Regions from separate parts of the Homo sapiens genome. Here all the other regions are linked to region 2. The links are contacts of gene promoters, found by promoter capture Hi-C in blood cells and fetal thymus (Javierre and others, 2016). All regions are on one chromosome and are shown on one strand. Each heading gives the region's core, a stretch centred on a gene start or on the middle of the fragment in contact. The rest is flanking DNA. Distances are from core to core; before and after follow the strand shown. Region 1 overlaps DOCK11 (dedicator of cytokinesis 11). Region 2 holds the start of ZCCHC12 (zinc finger CCHC-type containing 12). Region 3 overlaps DOCK11 (dedicator of cytokinesis 11). Region 4 overlaps DOCK11 (dedicator of cytokinesis 11). Region 5 overlaps DOCK11 (dedicator of cytokinesis 11). Region 6 has its middle 46 kb from the start of LONRF3.

Evidence for each region. The method cuts DNA at HindIII sites, captures the fragments that hold promoters and counts their contacts. A CHiCAGO score of 5 or more calls a contact.
Region 1: a contact is called between a fragment that was not itself captured here and the fragment with the promoter of ZCCHC12 in region 2, in 1 of 17 cell types (neutrophils). The highest score is 5.9, in neutrophils.
Region 3: a fragment that was not itself captured here is called in contact with the fragment with the promoter of ZCCHC12 in region 2 in 1 of 17 cell types (neutrophils); the score reaches 5.1 in neutrophils.
Region 4: a fragment that was not itself captured here is called in contact with the fragment with the promoter of ZCCHC12 in region 2 in 3 of 17 cell types (naive B cells, M1 macrophages and neutrophils); the score reaches 5.1 in naive B cells.
Region 5: a fragment that was not itself captured here is called in contact with the fragment with the promoter of ZCCHC12 in region 2 in 1 of 17 cell types (endothelial precursors); the score reaches 5.8 in endothelial precursors.
Region 6: a fragment that was not itself captured here is called in contact with the fragment with the promoter of ZCCHC12 in region 2 in 1 of 17 cell types (naive B cells); the score reaches 5.1 in naive B cells.

The regions. Positions count from the first base shown.
Region 1 is chrX:118,660,112-118,663,287 of GRCh38, reverse strand. It overlaps DOCK11 (dedicator of cytokinesis 11), which reads right to left. Exons shown (of 53, transcript NM_144658.4): 45 at 496-602. Among named protein-coding and RNA genes, the nearest start is that of IL13RA1, 66 kb to the left of the region's middle. The HindIII fragment of the contact is 5,270 bases long and covers 1-3,176 here.
Region 2 is chrX:118,821,687-118,825,073 of GRCh38, reverse strand. It overlaps ZCCHC12 (zinc finger CCHC-type containing 12), which reads right to left and starts at 1,250. Exons shown (of 4, transcript NM_173798.4): 1 at 1,069-1,250; 2 at 684-735; 3 at 361-485. The HindIII fragment of the contact is 2,857 bases long and covers 1-2,744 here.
Region 3 is chrX:118,575,687-118,579,147 of GRCh38, reverse strand. DOCK11 (dedicator of cytokinesis 11) reads right to left here. Exons shown (of 53, transcript NM_144658.4): 13 at 501-623. Among named protein-coding and RNA genes, the nearest start is that of DOCK11, 82 kb to the right of the region's middle. The HindIII fragment of the contact is 1,656 bases long and covers 783-2,438 here.
Region 4 is chrX:118,598,472-118,601,592 of GRCh38, reverse strand. It overlaps DOCK11 (dedicator of cytokinesis 11), which reads right to left. Exons shown (of 53, transcript NM_144658.4): 23 at 2,365-2,454. Among named protein-coding and RNA genes, the nearest start is that of DOCK11, 100 kb to the right of the region's middle. The HindIII fragment of the contact is 6,728 bases long and covers 1-3,121 here.
Region 5 is chrX:118,639,704-118,642,771 of GRCh38, reverse strand. DOCK11 (dedicator of cytokinesis 11) reads right to left here. Exons shown (of 53, transcript NM_144658.4): 39 at 1,467-1,582. Among named protein-coding and RNA genes, the nearest start is that of IL13RA1, 86 kb to the left of the region's middle. The HindIII fragment of the contact is 5,304 bases long and covers 1-3,068 here.
Region 6 is chrX:119,018,480-119,021,815 of GRCh38, reverse strand. No RefSeq gene overlaps it. Among named protein-coding and RNA genes, the nearest start is that of LONRF3, 46 kb to the right of the region's middle. The HindIII fragment of the contact is 1,293 bases long and covers 666-1,958 here.

The sequences.
Region 1 (3,176 bases), core at 350-2,849, 160 kb after region 2:
GGTCAGGGACTAATCATATTTAATTATTTAAAGCTCCTAGGTCACCAAGTCCAAGGCCTTGCTGTTAAGTCAATGTTCAATAAATCTTTGGTGGTTGACTGACAGCCAAAGCTGTTTTCTATCCATGTGGTGTTTAGAGCAGAAATTTTCCATTTAAAAATACTTTTGTGCATAGTCTGTCTTAGTTGAAGTAAAGAGCAATGTTAACTCTATTTTTTATGGAAAAATTTCCAACATGTGTTGACTCTTATCTAGTTATTGGAATGGTGACTTGAGGACGGCAAATGCTGTATTTCTAAAACTAGACAATGGGACCAGTTCAAGAGACAGGGCCCTCTAAACAGGAACATCTTTGCCCTGGACAGTTTTAATACTTAAAGTTCATTAACCCTTAGTTACCTTCAAAATTAGGTTAGCTGTAATAATTGTTTAATATATATGAATTTTAAGAAGTGAAATTTATATAACTGGCAATGCAGGCCCTGGAATCCTTACTTCACTATAATGGACATCCATCATCCCAGCATCTTCTTTCATTGCTCCTTCTTCATCTATATTGGGAGTAATTTTCTTGAACGCTGAACATCCGTTAGGAAATAATTCTGTGTGAATAAAAAAAACAGTGGAGTGAATTTATGAGAAAGCATTTAGTAAATAACAGTGAGCCTTACAGAGATGGGCTATTTAAAATAAACACATTATTTTTGTAAGAATCAAAGTCTTAAGTACAATTTTCACTTACAAAAATTTTTAAATTTGTTTCCATTTGCTACATATTTTATTAGTTTCTCCCCCTACAAAGTGAGCTTAAGTTAGTTATGAATAACTTTTATTCTTTGACTATGTATCATCTTCAATGGCTAGGATAGATGTTTACCTAGTGCAATCTAAACATTTTTATTTAAACTTTGATCCTGTATACATTTGTGTTCTATCATCTAAACAAGAGGGCAGGCACTTTTCAGGTAACCACTAAGTGATCTTTGGTAACCATGTCTAGTGCCTAATTTCACTGAGATTTGGGAGAGGAAGTGAGATGTTGGAGAAGGTCTGGCCTAGGACTTTTAAGAGAGTCAGGAAATAAAACAGATGGCAGGGATGAAGCATCCTAGAGAAAACAGGATGGGGCACTGGAAGAACCACCACTTTTGGAGTTACATAGACTCAGCTCTATCACTAACTGTGTGATTTTGTGCTAATGTTTATCTCCCTGGGACTATAAAAAGTTTTATCATCTGTAAAACAGGGATAATAAATAACTATGCTATGAGAATTAAATGAAATGTAAAGTGTTTAGAATGGAGCCTAGTAAATAAGTACTCAATGAATTATTACTAGCAAATAAGCCTACCAATAAATAAACTAGCCTTCTCAAGGTAGAATAAAATAATGGCTGCCAGCTGGACTCCTGGGAAGTAGGAAGTGAACTCAAGCTGAGAACACCTGCTGTAGGCTTCTGGACCAAATTGTTACTGTCAAGCAACAGTCGAGGTGTAAAGGCCACATGGTTCCCCTATAGATTCTAGACAGGGGAACATGTGTAAACATTCCTACTGTGTCTGCCTTTACCTTTATCTAAGTGGGCTGTAATTTTAGAGTTCAAGGAAAATTCTGCCTCTTTATAACATAACCATTGAAAACGTTTCAATGAAAAAGTTTCCTTCTGATAGGAGCTAGTCACACAGACACAAAAAAATGGCTGTTGCAATCTACTGTTCTACAACCTAACAGTGATACTTACAAATAATGACCTTTACTTACAATTAAGTATCTGGTAATCTTCCTGTTAGAGGTTGGGGAAGGAAGAAGGAAGGTTTAAAAAAAAAATCAGACCTCATGTTGAAGAGATTTCTCAGAATTCTGGTGGAAAAGAGGTTATATATCAGGGCTTGGATTTTTCCAACTCTTCTTGTCTAAATGAAACCTAATCACTAGACATGTATCTTCTGGGTAAGCTGCTTAACAGAACATGGGTAGGAACCACACACAGAAGTAGGAACCACACTTCTTTGAGAGAAAGATGAAAGTCTGCTAGGGGAAGATAGGATTATTTTGAAATACTTTTTTTTTTTTTTTTTGGAGACAGAGTGTTACCCCGTCACCTAGGCTGCAGTGCAGTAGCGTGATCATAGCTCATTCCAGCCTCGACTTCCTGGACTCAAGCCATCCTTCTGCCTCAGCCTCCCAAGTAGCTGGGACTACTGGTGCAAGCCACCACGGCTGGCAAATTTTTATATATTTTGTAGAGACCAGGTCTTGCCATGTTACCCAGGATGGTCTCAAACTCCTGAGCTCAAGTGATCCTACCCATCTCAGATTACCAAAGTGCTGAGATTATAGGCGTGAGCCACTACGCCTGGCTTTGAAATACTTTTTCAAGAAGGGAGAAATACATGGGAGTAGTCAGTGAGTTTTAATTAAGGAAGAAGGAGCCCCAGGAATGAAAGTGATATTTACTTTGACCCACCAAGCTGTAGGACCATTTTTGTTCAAATAAAGTAGATAATAAAAGGCATTGGGCCAGGCGCGGTGGCTCACGCCTGTAATCCCAGCACTTTGGGAGGCCGAGGCAGGCAGATCACGAGGTCAGGAGATTGAGACCATCCTGGCTAACAGGGTGAAACCCCATCTCTACTAAAAAAAAAAATACAAAAAATTAGCTGGGCGTGGTGGCGGGTGCCTGTAGTCCCAGCTACTCGGGAGGCTGAGGCAGGAGAATGGCGTGAACCCGGGAGGTGGAGCTTGCAGTGAGCCGAGATCACCACTGCACTCCAGCCTGGGTGACACAGCGAGACGCCATCTCAAAAAATAATAATAATAAATAAAAGGCGCTGAAGATAAAACATAGCCTGCTTCATTTCTGAAGATAAGCATGCCTAAAATGGTCTGTTACAAGACCTCTAGAGAGTTCTATTCAAAGTACTGGACCATAAAAAGATAAGGAACTTTCACCAGAATGTAAATCAATTCCTCATTTCCTTCTTCAACAAAGTCTTTCTATTAAAAGGAACAAGTCAGTTGAACAAACAGAGTGTTTAGTGACATGGTTAATTTACATTCAGGACAATACTCCTTATCTTGTTGTAAACATGTGATAAATAGTTCTCAGACTAGCAGCTGGTCTGTGGGATACTCTTTGTGCAGTAGCGCATTAGGAGAACTTTTTGAAATGTAGA
Region 2 (3,387 bases), core at 1-2,500:
TCCTACCTGAATATCCTGCAGTACATTTTATATTTGCCCACTACCCTAAAAATAATCCTGTAGGAGATTGACACTTACAACCTCCCAGAGCTACCCGATGCCTGCGTGCTAGCAAGGTGCTTTTTGCAGCCACATCCATCCCTCCCACCAGTCCTCCAAGAGGGACGGTAACTGTTGCTTCAAATTCTAGGTGTAGCAGTGTCTGGAGCTGATATTGGGCTCTCCAAATAGAGTACAATGATCGCAGATTTGTGGAAATAAAATAAGATCTCATTAACCTCATGGTCTCTGGTCTCAACCACACCCCCTTCTCAAAGTGCCCCCCACGCCCGTCCCCCTTGTTATTTCTCAGATTCTTACACGAACTCTGAAACAAGAGCGCGTCTTTATTTCACTTCCAGCCTCTGCAACCAGTGCCCTCCGTGAGAAAGCTCCTCTCCGGGGTACGGTCAACCTCTGTCCACAGGGGGTCGCAGATCCGGGTCCTTGAGGTTTCAAGATTGCGCCACAGCGGAGAAGGCCAGAGAAGGGAAGGGTTAGAAGCAGCTTCACCCGTCATCCTGCTACCCACCACCTCCGCTGTTGCCAGGCGAAAAATTCTCTCTGCCCCCTCCTGACTATAAGCCAGAGACCAGCCCCCCACCCTCCAGCATTACATTTCCCCCGGGAAGCCGTCGGCCTACCAGCTCTGCAATCAGCTGCACAGAATTCAAGTTCAGATGCGGCTTTGATGGCCTGCCACGGAGAAAGGGAATAGGAGTTGGACACACCCACCCACATATTCCTCCCAGAAAGAGATGAGGAGATGCAAAGGATGTTCGAAGCAAACAGCTCGAGATTCCTCCCCCCGCTACTCCTCGCCTCTCCTCCCACCCCCAAATCCAGGCAAATCCTACCTAGCCCGCAGTATCCAGGTGAACCCCACCTCCTCCCTCAGCGCAGCCGGGCCACGAGAGTACTCCTACCCCTGCCTCACAGTCACCGATTCTCCAAGCTGGGAGCCGCCCAGTACTGGTGGGTCTTCCCCCACCCCTCTCCCCGCCGGGCAATCACACCCCCATTCTTTACCTGTGCTCCGCTGGTGGACAGCAGATGCTCCCGCGTCGCCAGCTGTGGATTCCGCCTTCTGGTCTCCGCCTTGCAGGCGGCAAAGAACTGAAGCCTCCTTGGCCGCTAAGCGACCCGGGGCTGCCCGAAGGAGCTGCTTCGCAGGGCCGCCCAACCAGGGGTAGCAGAGACGAGGCAGCGCCGTTCCTAAGGCAGCCGCGGCGGCTTTTATCCTCTGCCAGCTGAGACAAAAGAGCGTGACGAGCGGGCTAGTGCGGCCAATCAGCGAAGTGCGGGGGCGGACGCCCCGCACAGCCTTGGGCAGAGGCGAGTTTTCGCCTGAGGGGGCGGGGGCGCAGCAGGCCCGCGGAGCGTCAAGTGCAGCTTGATTAGACCGATGGAGCCAATCTGCCTGGGAATTTGCGACTCTTTCTTCCTCCCCCAACCCGTCCCTTCTCCCTGGGCTCAACTCTGCATCTTAGGCCAGGTGCATTAAACACGAAGTGGGTCCAAAATCAAGTGAATAATAAAAGTTCTTCACCTTGGTATAGGGAAAAGACGGGGAAGAGGGGAAGGGGCGGGAAGAGCATTAGCACGTGCATTGCGGAAACAGGCTTTCACACACATCTCCTCTTTTACTGTGAAAGAAGTAGCAGTATGTCCATTTAACAGAGAGGAGAGCTGGAGAACAAGGCTCTCAACCAATACCCATTCAAGTATGGGGGCAAGACATCAGAGTCATTTGGGGGAGCTTGTTAGAAATGCAGTCTTCTGGCCGGGAATGGTGGCTCACGCCTGAAATCCCAGCACTTTGGGAGGCCGAGGCGGGCGGCTCACGAGGTCAAGAGATCGAGACCATCCTGGCCAACATGTTGAAACCCCGTCTCTACTAAAAAGACAAAAAAAAAAAAAAAAATCAGCTGGGCATGATGGCGCGTGCCTGTAATCCCAGCTACTTGGGAGGCTGAGGCTAGAGAATCTCTCCAACCTGGGAGGCGGAGGTTGCAGTGAACCAAGATCGCACCGCTGCACTTCAGCCTGGCAAGGGAACAAGACTCCCTCTCAAAAAAAAAAAAAAAAAAAAAAAAAAAAAAAAAAAAAGGAAAAGAAAAGAAATGTAGGCTCTGGGCCCCAACTCTGGTGGATTCAGATTTACTAGGACTAGCGGTTGTGATGTGGTTTTGTATTTAGTATTTTTAACCGGCGCTGCGGTTGGTTCTGAGTTGTAGCAAGGTTTGTGAATAAGTAAATGAGCCTGTCTCCAATATCTGTCCACAGGTATCTGTGGTGAAATGCAACTCCAGAGCAGATGTGCCTACCTGGAATCCATGATCTTCCTGAAATTGTATGCAAAGATTTCGGACTCTGTATGAAGCTAAATAATGGCCACCCAAATGTATCAAGTCCTAATCCCTGAAACCTGTAAATGTTACCTTATAAAGTAAAATGGTCTTTGCAGGTGTGATTAAGTTAAGGCTTTTTGACTTAATTTTCCAGGCAGGCTGAAATCTAAACCACAAGTGCCCTTATAAAAGAGGGAGAGTTGGTGCACCAAGAAGAGAAGGCAATGACCAGAGATTAGTGATGTGGCCATAAGCAGAGGAATGCTAGCAGCCACCAGAAACTGGAAGAGGCAAGGAATAAAGCACAGTCCTACTGACACCTTGAATTCAGCCCAGAGAAACAGATGTTAAGCTTCTGGCTTCTAGAACTGTGAGAAATTAAACTTCTCTTGTTTTAAGCCAAGTTTGTGATAATTTGTTACAGTGCTGTTTTAGTCTGTTTGGGGTGCTATGGCAAAATACCATAGACTGGGTGGTTTATAAACAACAGAAATGTATTGCTCATAGTTCTGAAGGTTGGGAAGTCCAACTTCAAGGTGCCAGCAAGGTTGGTTTCTCCTGAGGCTTCTCTCCTTGGCTTGCACATGGCTGCCCTCTTGCTTGGCCATCCTCTCTGTGCATATGTGCCTCTGGGTTCTCTCAGTGTGTCCAAATTTCCTCTTCTTATAAGGACACAAGTCAGATTGGGGCCCACCCTAAGGGCCTCATTTTTACCTTAATAACCTCTTTAAAGGCCCTATCTTTAAATACAGTCACACTCTAAGGTACTGAGGGTTAGGATTACAATGAATTTGGGGGAACATAATTCAGCCTGCAGCACTCCATTTTCCCTTACTTCTGGTTCTGGGAAAGCAAGCCTTCCTTCTCTCATGTAAAGTGTGGTTAAGAGACTCCTGTGGGAACTTTGGGGGGTCAAGACCAAGTGCACTTGGACTGCCCAAGTGCAAAGGAGTTGCTTGTTCTTGACTCCTGATGTTTGGAAGTGAGTGAACAGTCT
Region 3 (3,461 bases), core at 361-2,860, 250 kb after region 2:
CCTTTAAAAAGTAGGAAGGGCAAAGATCTCAGAATAAAGGGCAGCCCTTTGAATTAAATACATTTAGCTTCATGAAATGTTCACTGTCTGTCTTTCTTTTCTCGTTTCATCACAGACAGGAGTAAATCTGGGTATGAACTGACATTTGGGAACTATAGGACTGGATCATCTTTAATCTCCCAGCTCTGAGATTCATTCTAGCACTTCATGTAGGGCTGTAAGGAAAAGAACGGCTATTGTCAAGGATATGGTGTCAATTAGCAGATGTTGCCTAAAAGCTTTTGGCTCTTATTTTGATAATCAAGCAGAAATCAGATTATCACATTAACAGAACATCAATGACAATAGGAAAATATGCCATGTTCAAGTTTTAGCAAACATACACAGTATACAATGTTTTCAGAATATATAGCATGCTCAAAGCAATGGCATTTAAAATATCAGTAAAAGGCAAATTCTACGTTAAGGTGAAATGTTGATCAACAACCTTTATAAATTACCTTTACTGGATCAGAATTTTTGATATAGGGTTCTGCACAGTGTGTAATGTTTCCCTGTAGTACCTTTTCAATTCTGGCAACTAGAAAAATTTCAGGATGTGGATTCGTCACTGAGAAAATTCCCTGGGAAAAAAGTACTTCCGTTAGACTTTCTTATGTAATCTTGTGCATATGGTTGTTTATGGTTAACGATTTTTAGTAAACAATGTTCATATTCAACAAAGGATCATGTCCAGGACCCTAGAAATAGATAGAATTTCCTTTCATAGAGTTTTCAAAGCTTCCAACGTTCCTTTCAAAATGGATTTTATATTTTGTCACCAACCTCACATCTGTTAGTCTCCATAGCGCAGGTGTCACCGTTGCTGCTTTGCCTCTTTGGTTTGGTTGTGTATGCGAAGTGAGTACATTTCTCGAGTGGAACTAGATATACATTTTTAAATGCAGCTGCATGTAACTCAAGAGCAATTAATATTTAACTAATATTTATTTCCACTAAGAAGGAAAAAGAAACTTTACTGCTCTAATATAGAAAAACTAAATCATCCTCTAAAAGACATTCCTTTGTTGCAGTTCAAGAGCTCTGGTGCTTCCAATGCAAAGGTAGGAGACAGAGAATCCAAAACTCATTTTGTCCCCATACACTTTACTTAAATGTACTAATGTAGATGCAACCAAAATTACATTTTTCTTTGAATGCATGTGGAACAGGAACACCTCCTGTCCAGTTTGACTCCTTCCAAATATAATATCATCTACATAGCATGTTAGTTGGTTATGCCTGTTGTTTAAAGGGGCATCACTAGTGAATTCAAGTGGAAAAATCTATCACTGAGTCTCTACCAAAATTTCGTTTTTTTCCTTGATATATTACCAACTTTGTTAATATAGTGATTTCCAGTTTCCAATGCATTTCAGACACATTATCTCATTTGTACCAGATAGAACCCTTGGAGGTAGACAGGGCAGAATAGAAAATTGAGTGTTAAGAGGCTAATGATTTCCCCCAAGTCAAACAGCTTATAAGGATCCTGCGTAATGGCTGATTCAGCTTTGAATTCCCAAGCAGCAAGCATGGAACAAAGTGGTTCAAATTTGCTTGAGAAAGTGAACAAAGTGGTTCAAAATTGCTTGTCAAATTTCTTGGGTTCTGGCTCCAACATTTATGGGTTTAAGCAAGTCACATTCTCTCTAAGTCTCAGGTTTCTCATCTGTGAAATAGCAGGATAGTAGTGATTTCATACATTTCTTGTATGGATTAAATGAAGTAATGCACATCAGGTACCTTGCTATTACCCAGGTGGCCCACCAAAGCATCCCAAGGTCACAGAACCTGGCTTCGGGTACTGCCGGGAACATGCTGTTTGAGCTGTGAGGCTGAACGGGTTGGCAGACTGCCCGGGCTGTCCCTGCAGAAGGTATGCTGAGCAGTGCACCTTGAGTGCAGTGTTACGCTAACTGCCACATAACCATGCTAGATGGTTTTCATGCTTTATCTCATTCAGTCTTCATAAAAACCCTGAAATGTAGGCACTACTATATACATATTCTATAGATTAAGAAGTGGAGGCTCAGAAAGGTTTGTGCAGTGAGTAAGTGGGTGAAGAAGATTGCAGTTCAGGCTTCCAGATTACACAGCCCATGCTATATTCTCTCTCAGCCCTGAGTCCCATACACCCAACATCTCATATGATGAGGCCTGATTAGAACAGTAATACTGCTGGGTGTGGTGGCTCGTGCCTGTAATCCCAGCACTTTGGGAGGCTGAGGCGGGAGGATTGCTTGAGCCCAGGAGTTTGAGAACAGTAATACTGATTATTGCTATAGCTAACATTTACTGAGCACCTATTGTTTCCCATTCCCAGTACTCTAAGCATTTCCTACTGATGCCAGCAATGAGGACTATAATTTTAAGATAGTTGATAATTGATAAAAGCTTGCTGTTTTCACTTGTTTGAGATCACTGTCAGTGCTACTACTCCTGGCTGCTACGCTGCACTGCGCTAACCCAGTGTGCCCATCACAGTGCTGAGTGTTTTCTTAGAACCACGCACCTTATTTGTGCCTCCCCACAGCCCTTGGAGACAGGTACTGTCACCACCTCCACTTGCAGATAAGGATGCTGAGGCACAGAGATGTCCATTTTCTAACTGACCAGGGATTCCAATGATGGGGGACACTCTTTGGGGTTGTTTTACCTTTTGTCCCAACAGCTTCTGGTCCTCTCCCTGTCCCCAGAATGCAAAAGGTGGCCAGAGAGAACCCAGAAATCCCACGTGGGCTGGAGGTCTGGCCGTTTAGGACAAGGTCTATGGCCCAGTCCTTGTTTCCCACCAAGGGGCATGAATATGCCTCCCCACCCCAGGGCGACTCTTACCCACTTTGCTGGCCCCTCCCGCTAGAAAATGGGCCAGGTCCTCTACCCCAGCCACCAGCACTTACAAAGCTCCCAGGATGTGGCAGGGCATGTGCTAGGGTTATATATTTCGGCACTTAATTACATTTGTCTAATATTCTTGATCAAATTATTTCAAACAGACCTAAATTCAAATCCTACCGTCACCACTACTAGCTGTGTAATGGTGAGCAGTTTACTTAACCTCCCTGAGCTTCAGTTTCGCCATCTGTCAAACAGTAGTGATTATATCATTTCACAAACTAGTATGATTACATGAGACACTGATGGAATAATGTTGGCACACAGGAGATCTTTTTTAAATGTTGATTTTCTTCCTGTTCCAAATTACAAACTGGATGACATCTGAAATCATAATTTAAACTTCCTGCATTGAACATACAGCTGAGTGCTACACACTGAAGTAATACGGGAAATACACATTGGCTTAAAATGACTTATTTGATATTGTGCAGGAAATTTTAAACATAAAATTCAATAGCAAGTTCTCAAATATTTACAACACTTTACTTGCTCCATCCCTCTTTCAGAAGCATCCACCATCA
Region 4 (3,121 bases), core at 405-2,904, 220 kb after region 2:
GAAAATGATGTTCTTTTCCATTCCACTTGATTGAAACTTTTATAAAACTTTCCCATGTGAAGAACAAACCTTAACAAAGCATTCATACATATTGAAGTCCTAGATATTTACCTGAGGAAAGGATTTAAAAGTTAGATGATTATCATACTTTTTTCTTTTTTTTTTTTTTTTGAGACAGGGTCTCGCTGTGGCCCAGGCTGGAGTACAGTGGCATGATCACAGTTTACTGGAGACTCAACCTCCCAGGCTCAAACGATCCTCCCACCTCAGCCTCCTAAGTAGCTGAGATTACAGGTGTGTGCCACTATGCCCGGCTAATTTTTGTATTTTTTTATAGAGATGGGTTTCACCATGTTGATCAGGCTGGTCTCGAACTCCTGGGCTCAAGCAATCTGCCTGCCTGGGCCTCCCAAGGTGCTGGGATTACAGGCATGAGCCATTGCACCTGGCCTATTATACGTCTTAATGATAGTTAAGAACATATAGCCATATAGCCACCACTTATTGACTGTCTCCCTTCTACTCTTCCAACAGTGTGTTTTCTATATGGTAAGCAGAATGACACTTTAAAAACCAAAGTCACATCATGTCACACTTCTGTCCAAAGCTCCATATTCCTATCTCACTCGGAGTAAATTCAAACTCCTCGCCATGGCTTATGAAGCCTTACTCGACAAGCTCCCAGCAACCTCCCCAAGGTAATGTCCTATCACTCTGTGTCCCAGCCACACTGGGATTCTTGCTGTTCCCCAAACACACCAAGCCAAGCTCCTCGGGGCCTTTGTACTTGCTGTTCCCAGCTCTCCCCGAGAAATCCACATGGCTGGCACTCTCATTTCCTTTAGGTCTCTGCTCAAATGTGCCTTTACTAGAGAGATTTTCTCTGGCCACTTTAAAACAGGGACCCCTTGTAAATCCCTGCTCCCCTTCATTGTGCTGGTTTTCTTTATAACAGTTATTACCATATGAGATGACGTATATATTTATTAACTTATGTGTTTATTGTCTGTCTCAACAAGTAAGCTCTTTGACAATAGGGATATTATTTGTTTTCTCCACTTAAATTTCCAATGCTTAGAATGATGCCTGGCCCATAGGAAGCACTAAAGAAATAAGTGTGGCATGAACGATTACTATCCGGCAGATGCCCTAATCTTTTTCTTTTTTCTTTTTTTTTTTTTTTAAAAAAAAAGAAAACAAACCAGAATCTCGCTGTCACCCAGGCTGGCACAATCTCAGCTCACTGCAACCTCCGCCTCCCAGGTTCAAGCGATTCTCCTGCCTCAGCCTCCTGAGTAGCTGGGATTACAGGCGTATGCCACCACGTCTGGCTGATTTTTGTATTCTTAGTAGAGACGGGGTTTCGCCATGATGGTCAGGCCGGTCTTGAACTCCTGAGCTCAAGCAATCTCCTGCCTCGGCCTCCCAAAGTGCTGGGATTATAGGCGTGAAGCACCATGCCCAGCTCCATCATCTCATTTAAGTCTCACAACCACCCTACAAGATGGGCACTATTGTTATCCTCACATGACAGATGAAGAAACAAAGGCTCAGAGAAGTAACTTGGTCATGGTCAGTTACAGAGCTAGTAAGTGACATGTGGGATACAAGCTCAGTTTATGATTCCAGAACCCATATATTTGATCTCATCTCATACTACCTCTCTGAAAGAAATGAACATTTTTGTTTCCTGAGTATATCATTAAGTAATAGCATATGTCCAAAGGTAAATCCTAAAGATGTTTCATTTAAAATAATATTTCCTCAGACTTGCTATAGCTATCTTACTAAAGGAACAATTAAAAGAAGAGAGCCACTGTCAGGCAAATTATGATATGCACTGTAGTCCTAGCACACAGGGAAAAAACCAAGTGTTAGGTCCTCTATACATGTGGTAAGATACAATATGCCAACATGCATAAAATATGTGTCTTTCATTAGCTAGCCCCTTTGTTAGTCTATCACCCATGGACACAAGAACAATTTCACATTTCATTCCAAGTCAAAGTGATTCCATTCCTCCTGGCCCTTTCCCCCACAGCATCCTCCACCTTTATTGGGCAGTCAGCAGGAAGAGAAAGCCCCTGAAAAATCAATTTATGGACCTGAAATAAACATTTTCATGAGAGTTTCAAAAATATGATGCTGCATTGTGGCTATTACATTTTCTTCCTAATGTTGCCACTCTGCTGTCTGCTTCTAAACAGCCACATGATGGAAAAATACATCATAGAAAGTATTCTCTTGAGGAAATACAGCCAAAAATATTTTAAACTGTCTGTTTGCTTTTTTTTTTCACACCAAAATGTGGCAACAGAAAGACATGAAAAACAAACGTTTTGCAGAAAGCTGCTGTTCATTTACCTTTAAATATTTAATGAGCTCCCCTGGAACTTCTTTCGAGCCTGACTGAATCAGCTGGCAATGATGGAAGAATTTGTGCACATGCAGATCCTGGAACACAGATGGAAACAGCCATATGAAATTTGATTCATTATCCTCAAATGCAAGCTCTCTACCTCTCCCTCCTCCTGTATCTTGCAGACCTATTTATCCGGTATTCTAATGCCCAGGCTCAGCAGCTCTTGACCACTATACAAAGCAGCAAAACCAGGTAAATCTGCCATGTACACAAGCACATGGGGTAGGCCACCATTTATGCCCAACTAGCTAAAGATTCATTTGATTCCGACTTTGACTAGTGTGTTCTATGAAGTTGGGCTGCTTCTCCATTTTAATGAAATAAGCAGGAATAAAGGTATGAACTGAAAAAGATACAGATAAATAAATAATAAAGATGTGAACTGATAAAGAAAAGATAGCAGCAGGAAGTTAGCAGAACAATAGTCTCAGGCATTCAGTACCCAAATTTACCATGGCACTTCACTGGCAAGGGAGTCCAACTGTCCTATGTGGAACCCATATACACTGATTCTGTAGACAGCATGGACTACATCAGGAACCAGAATAATGAAATGTGTGTTTTGACCTGATTCCCCTGATTACTACTCTGTGACCTTGGGTAAGTCACCTAACCTGCCTGAGCCTCAGTTTCCTCACCTATAAAATGGAGATGATGGCTTCCACATTCCTTTCAGAGTTCTGTGAGGCTCAAATCAGT
Region 5 (3,068 bases), core at 569-3,068, 180 kb after region 2:
AACAAAACCCAAAACAACAACAATCTAATGATAATACTGACAGCCAGAATCCCTGAATGGTGTTTGATTTTTCTGGCACTTTCCTTAGTATATTTCAAGGCATGGTATAGTGGCTAGAATCATGGTCTCTTATAACTGGCCTAGATCTCAATCCTGATTCTGCCACTGCCCAGCTATTTGACATTAACCTCCTGTGGGCCCCAGTTTCCCCATTATCAAAAGGGAATAATAACAGTATCTACATCATAAGGCTATTATGAGGATTAAAAGTGAGTTCATATTTGTATTTTTAAGTTATTGAGATATAATTTACAAACCATAAAATTCACCAGTTTCAGGTATACAATTAAATTACATTTAGTAAATTCGGCAACAGAGTTGGGTGACCACCGCAATCCAATTTTAGAACATTTCCATTGTTTCAAAAAGATCACTCCCCTTTCTCATTCCCAGCCTCACAATGAAAAAGTGAGTTAATATTTGTAAAGCACTTAGGACAGTGCCTGATATCTACCAAGAGACTATATAAATGTTTGTTAAATAAATTAGAGGTATCAGAATAGGAGGAAGGAATACAATGTACATCATGAGATCTAATGGCTTTCTTAGTTATTGGCACGATGAAACATGGAGTTGTGTTGCATTTTAATATAGAACAAACCTAATACTTCATAAAGGGATCTGTAGCCTATTTATTAAAGGTATTCTGCAGCCTATTTTATATTAGTATCTAATTCAATTTTCCTTTATAAGCCTCTTTGAAAAGCACAGGCCAGGTTTCCATAGAAAATCTCGAGGTCTGAAGCAATTAACTTAATTACTTAGAGAAGAGGGGAAAAAGGAAAAAAAAAATCTGTATAACTGAAGTGAAAGCAAGCAAGATTTTCACCTTTGAGTTCTTACATTATGGTCACACCGTTTTTACTTTTCAAAGCACTCTCACGTCCATTATCCCATTTCCCCCTCCAATAATCCTGCTAGATAACTGCTTTTACCTTCTTTTTAAAATCATAGCAATGATGATTTGCACTGAGAGGCAAACATCTGAGAAAAAACACTAAGTGCGCGCCTAGGGAAGCCAGCCAGACTGCCCGGACATCATCTACCCTGACAGGACATCTCATCACAATGGGTATTTGGGCAAACAGATCCAATCATATTTTGGGCTAAAAATTGCTGGCTACTTAAAGTATGGAAACTTTGTTTTTAAATACGAAAATCTAATAGAATTTAAGAGGTAGAAGAGAGCTTAAGGGCAAGTTAGTCCACTCCCTTCCCTTTATGGATGACACAAGTGAGTCTCAGTGACTTCCAGGGTCACATGATAACCAAACTAGAACTGCCATCCACATTTCCTGACTATTCATGCCAGCCTTTTTCAGTGTACTACCCCACATTGACTAGGTAATTTCTGCATAATGTTACTTTGCAATGGTACCAACTGAATTATAACTCTTCATTTTTACCTTGAAGCACTGAGTGAAAAATGATATGGTGTCTAGTACTGTTAGGGAAACTTCAGTAGCTGTATTGCCTTCAAGAAGTGCCTGGTGGAAAATGTCTGCTTCAGTTGTTGTAGAACCTAGGATTAAAAAAGTAAATTAAACTTTTCCCAACACGAAGATGCACATAATGGTGTTGAATGACTTTCTACCCAAAGACTTAAGACAAGAAAGGGGGCTCGGCTGGGTGCGGTGGCTCATGCCTGTAATCCCAGCACTTTGGGAGGCTGAGGCGGACAGATCATGAGGTCAGTTCAAGACCAGCCTGGCTAGCATGATGAAACCTGTCTCTACTAAAAATACAAAAAATTAGCCGGGCATGGTGGCACGTACCTACAATCCCAGCTACTCAGGAGGCTGAGGCAGGAGAATCACTTGAACCCGGGAGGCAGAGGTTGCAGCGAGCCGAGATCACGTCACTGCACTCCAACCTGGGTGACAGAGTGAGACTCCGTCTCAAAAAAAAGAGGGCTCACAGTGTCATACTGTATTTAACTCCTTCATCAAATATAGTCTGGGTTAATCAATTTCATTAGTTTTCATTACAGTTCTGTATCAACAGCTCTGCAGGACATAATTAGGTGCCCACCTCTTTGGAGACAAGGTTTCAGTGATGAACTCTGGCGATGTAACTAGGAAATAATGTGGGAGGCCTTCTAAGTCATGCCACTAATTATGTGGGTAAAAATGAGAAACCACTAAATAGAAATTCAGCTACAGATAAACAGTAGTGCCCTATGGTCAGACATTTTCAATTATGCCAATTATATGACATTTGTTTCTAAATCAGAAGGAAAACAAGGTATCTTGGAGGCAACTGAAGGAAGTGGTTCATCATATTTTTACAAGAAGCTGAAGGCTTTAAAACATGCAGATTTAAAGGTCCTGAGTCTATTAGTTCAGGGTCTAGCAAAACATTATTTTTTATTACTAGGTCTTACCACAAAGCCAGTTTTGCTGGCTTCCTTTTCTGAAACCTTCAGAGGACTGTGTGGAAACAAAACATTCTCACTCTTTGAGTTGTTATTAATATTTGCTTTTCATAGGATAGCTTCCATTTATATAACCCTCTAGCTTCCGCAGTTGGGCAAGATTTCTCTCCTTGCCCTATTTGCCTTGTCAATACTTCAACCTGTCTGAAATACACCTTTGCCAAACTAGTATTTAGGATTCACCGATTTCTGCAGTCAACTCAGCATGTTCATTCCCTAATCATTAAATGACCAAAAGTAACTAAACAAATATTACATATACTATTATATTAAGATGTCAATATTTGCATTGAAGTCTAACAGTAGGAATGAAGAATACTCAATATAAAAATATTATGAGAATAGCAATTCCATGGGAAAAATTTAGTTTCTTTAACACTAAGAAGAAAACATCATGACCTAAAATTGTTCAAAAATCCATGTGTATTTTATCATTTTATAGTCATGTATGATGAAATTGATTATATACATAGCAGAGAGATGCAAACACATGTATGGGAAATCATTTCCCATCATATTGGCAATTTAAACCAGGACTTCTTTTCTTCATACATATTTAAGGGATACAGGTGAT
Region 6 (3,336 bases), core at 63-2,562, 200 kb before region 2:
AGGAGCTCCGCCGCTCCAATGGCCAGTCACAGGGGATTATCTGAGCCCAGGCCAGCTCCACAGGTAGAGCTGGAAGCGCCACATGCGCAATGACTCTGCTTGCCCCTTGCTGCTGAGGCAGCACTGGGCTAAAAGCAACCTTCAGAAAAGGCAAACTTTAAAAATTGTCATTCTCTGCCCCGCTAAGTCAGGGGCAGGCACTCTTTTCTCCAGGTTGTCTACAGAAAATTGGTTTTTCATTTTCTACATTTTGCTGGTTATTTGCTAGCAGCAGTAGTACAGTACAAAGCAGAAAGATATGATGTCTGCTTGCTACCTAGTGTATATATATATATATATATATATATATATATATATATATATACACACACACATACACACACACACATACACACACAAAGACATACATACATACATACATACATACAAAATATAACCTACTAGGCAAAGACTGGGTCAGTCATGATAGACAGAAAAACTAACTAAATAAGTGGCACTATCTACTGTGGGGGAAGTCTTATTTTTCTGGCCTAGATTTAGCCTTATGTCTTTCTTCTGTATACCCTTCATTCCCAAGCTGTGCAGCAAAACCAATTTCCCAGTGTAAAAATGTTCAAGACCAATTGATTACCTCGTTAAGGTACATCCCAAAGAAAGCCAAAGCTTAGCCTTGCATCCTGCCTTGCAACTAGACAAAATATTTAACATAGTGGAGGCTCAGTTTTCTCATTCATAATATGGGGATAATAACTGCTCTCGCAGGGTTGGTATGAGAAATAAATGATGTAATGAGCTCAGGTATGTGAGATCACTTGGCTCAGTACCTGGTACATGGGGATCTCAGTACATTTTTTGTTGAATCTGTTACTTTGGGCAACATAAAGAAATACTATCAACTAAGAACAGAAGTCACAGATTGTAAACTCTCATCATCTGGGATGGGTAAGGTTCTCAATACATTTTGGAGAACAGGGAGTGAAAAGTTGGTTATTCTAATGGAGCTAGAACTTAAGGCTTCCATTCTATCAGAAATCCTAGGCTGGGTGCGGTGGCTCACACCCACGCCCGTAATCCCAGCACTTTGGGAGGCCCAGGCAGATGGATCACCTGAGGTCAGGAGTTCGAGACTAGCTTGACCAACATGGTGAAACCCCATCTCTACTAAAACTACAAAAATTAGCCAGGCGTGGTGGTGCGTGCCTGTAATCCCAGCTACTTGGGGGGCTGAGACAAGGGAATCACTTGAACCTGGGAGGCGGAGGTTGCAGTGAACTGAGATCGAGCCACTGCACTCCAGCCTGGGTGACAGAGTGAGACTCAGACTCGCACACACACACACACACACAAAAGAAAGAAAGGAAAGGAAAGGAAAGGAAAAAGAAAGGAAGGAAGGAAGGGAGGGAAAGAGAGAGAGAGGGAGGGAGGGAGGGAACAAAAGAAAAAGAAAGGAAGGAAGGAAGGAAGAAAGAAATCCTAGACCTACATAGGGCACTACCTTCTAGCCCTTATTGAAGCAGGAAAAAAATTTCTGGTATAGGATTGATCCCTATCTCTGACCCTCATTTGTTCTCCAGTTATTTCACTTTCACACACATTTAATTCCCAAAAGAATTATCTGTAAATCATCAAATTATGGGTCCAAAAATCAGTGGTATGTATTCCCCCAACTAAGTTTAAAGGGGTTTCAAGTGGATATTGTGTGTAAAGGCAGTGTTTTATACAAATGTAGGCCCTTGATGATATTCTATAACTATGACTAATCTAATAGTAGCTATTATTTCTTGAGTGCATTCTAGGTGTGAGACACTGTGCTAATTGATTTACACATTATCTCATTTAATTTTCGTAACAACCCTATATGCAGAACTTATCACTATCATTTCATAGATTAGAAAACTGAGGGTTGGCAAAAGTTAAATCAATTGCCAAAAATAATATATCTAATAAGTAGAGAAGCTTAGGGCCTTTTTCTTTGTTGCATTTACACTAGATAACCAGAAACTATTAGGATTGTGTTATGACCACATGGTCTGGGAACCAGGTGGGAGGGGGAGTCTTTTCTGCTCCCTGAGCTTTGTGGAGTTTGCTTGCGCAGAAATAATGCCTATACTTCCGCCTATTTCTGTTCTTCACCTGCCCAGACTAGCTCCAAACATCAAATCTGATAAACACAACACTCTGGCAACATAATGTCCATTAAGTGAGTGCAGAAAAGACCATCTGGTTTCTGCTTACATGCATCTTTTTTATGTTGTCTGGATCATCTCATTCTCCCTTTCCTGTTTCTAGCTACAGGTGGTGATGGGAGAAGTAAGAATTACACTCTCACCTTAACAGAGTGATGGGCTGTGAATGAATGATGCAAAAATCATTCACTGTCCAAAATCACATGGTATAATTTGCATGAAGGTACTAATGGCACAATTCACTTCCTCCCTGCTCTAATCGTTTCACTCTGCCATTATAACACTCCCATACTTGTGGTACTTTACAGGCTGTCCTGCCACTGAAGGACTCAAACTAGCACTAAGCAAGCTAAATCAGGGCTTACTCTTACTCCTCACCCTATATTCTCCCCATACATTGAAATATTTCACCCATGCAACTAGAAGCAAAGGCAGTACTTAGGTAAAATAATAGATTATCTGGTTCCCTTTTTTTTTTTTTTTTTTTTTTTTTGAGACGCAGGTTTGCTCGTTGCCCAGGCTGGAGTGCAGTGGTGCAATCTCGGCTCACTGCAACCTCCATCTCCCAGGTTCATGTGATTCTCCTGCCTCAGCCTCCCAAGTAGCTGGGATTACAGGCATACACCACCAAGCCTGGCTAATTTTGTATCCATTTTTAGTAGAGACAGGGTTTCATCATGTTAGTTAGGCTGCTCTCGAACTCCTGACCTCAAGTGATCCGCCTGCCTCGGCCTCCCAAAGTGCTGGGATTACAGGCGTGAGCCACCGTGCCCGGCCATCTGGTTCCTTTAAAAAGATTTTTATAGGGTTCTACTCTATTTGTCTTATTTACATTTTAATAATAAAAAGTCCTTATCAAGTGTTTCTGTCCAGGTCTTGATCCTCAGAACCCCGGGGAGAGGTGGGTTATGGAGGCTAGTTGGGCATGACTGTGATGTGCTAAACTGAACACCATTTCCTCTGAAGAGTTAATTATGATCCTGCCCAAAATCCGATTCCTAACTGCACTGGGGAAAAATTAGATACACGTACAATTAGATTGCTGAAGTAAATGCCTATAATAAAAATAATTCTTTCAGCTTTGTTCTGTATTACACACAGAAAATGAATTATTTTACTTTACCTTGGCATATACCATAATCTAGGCCAA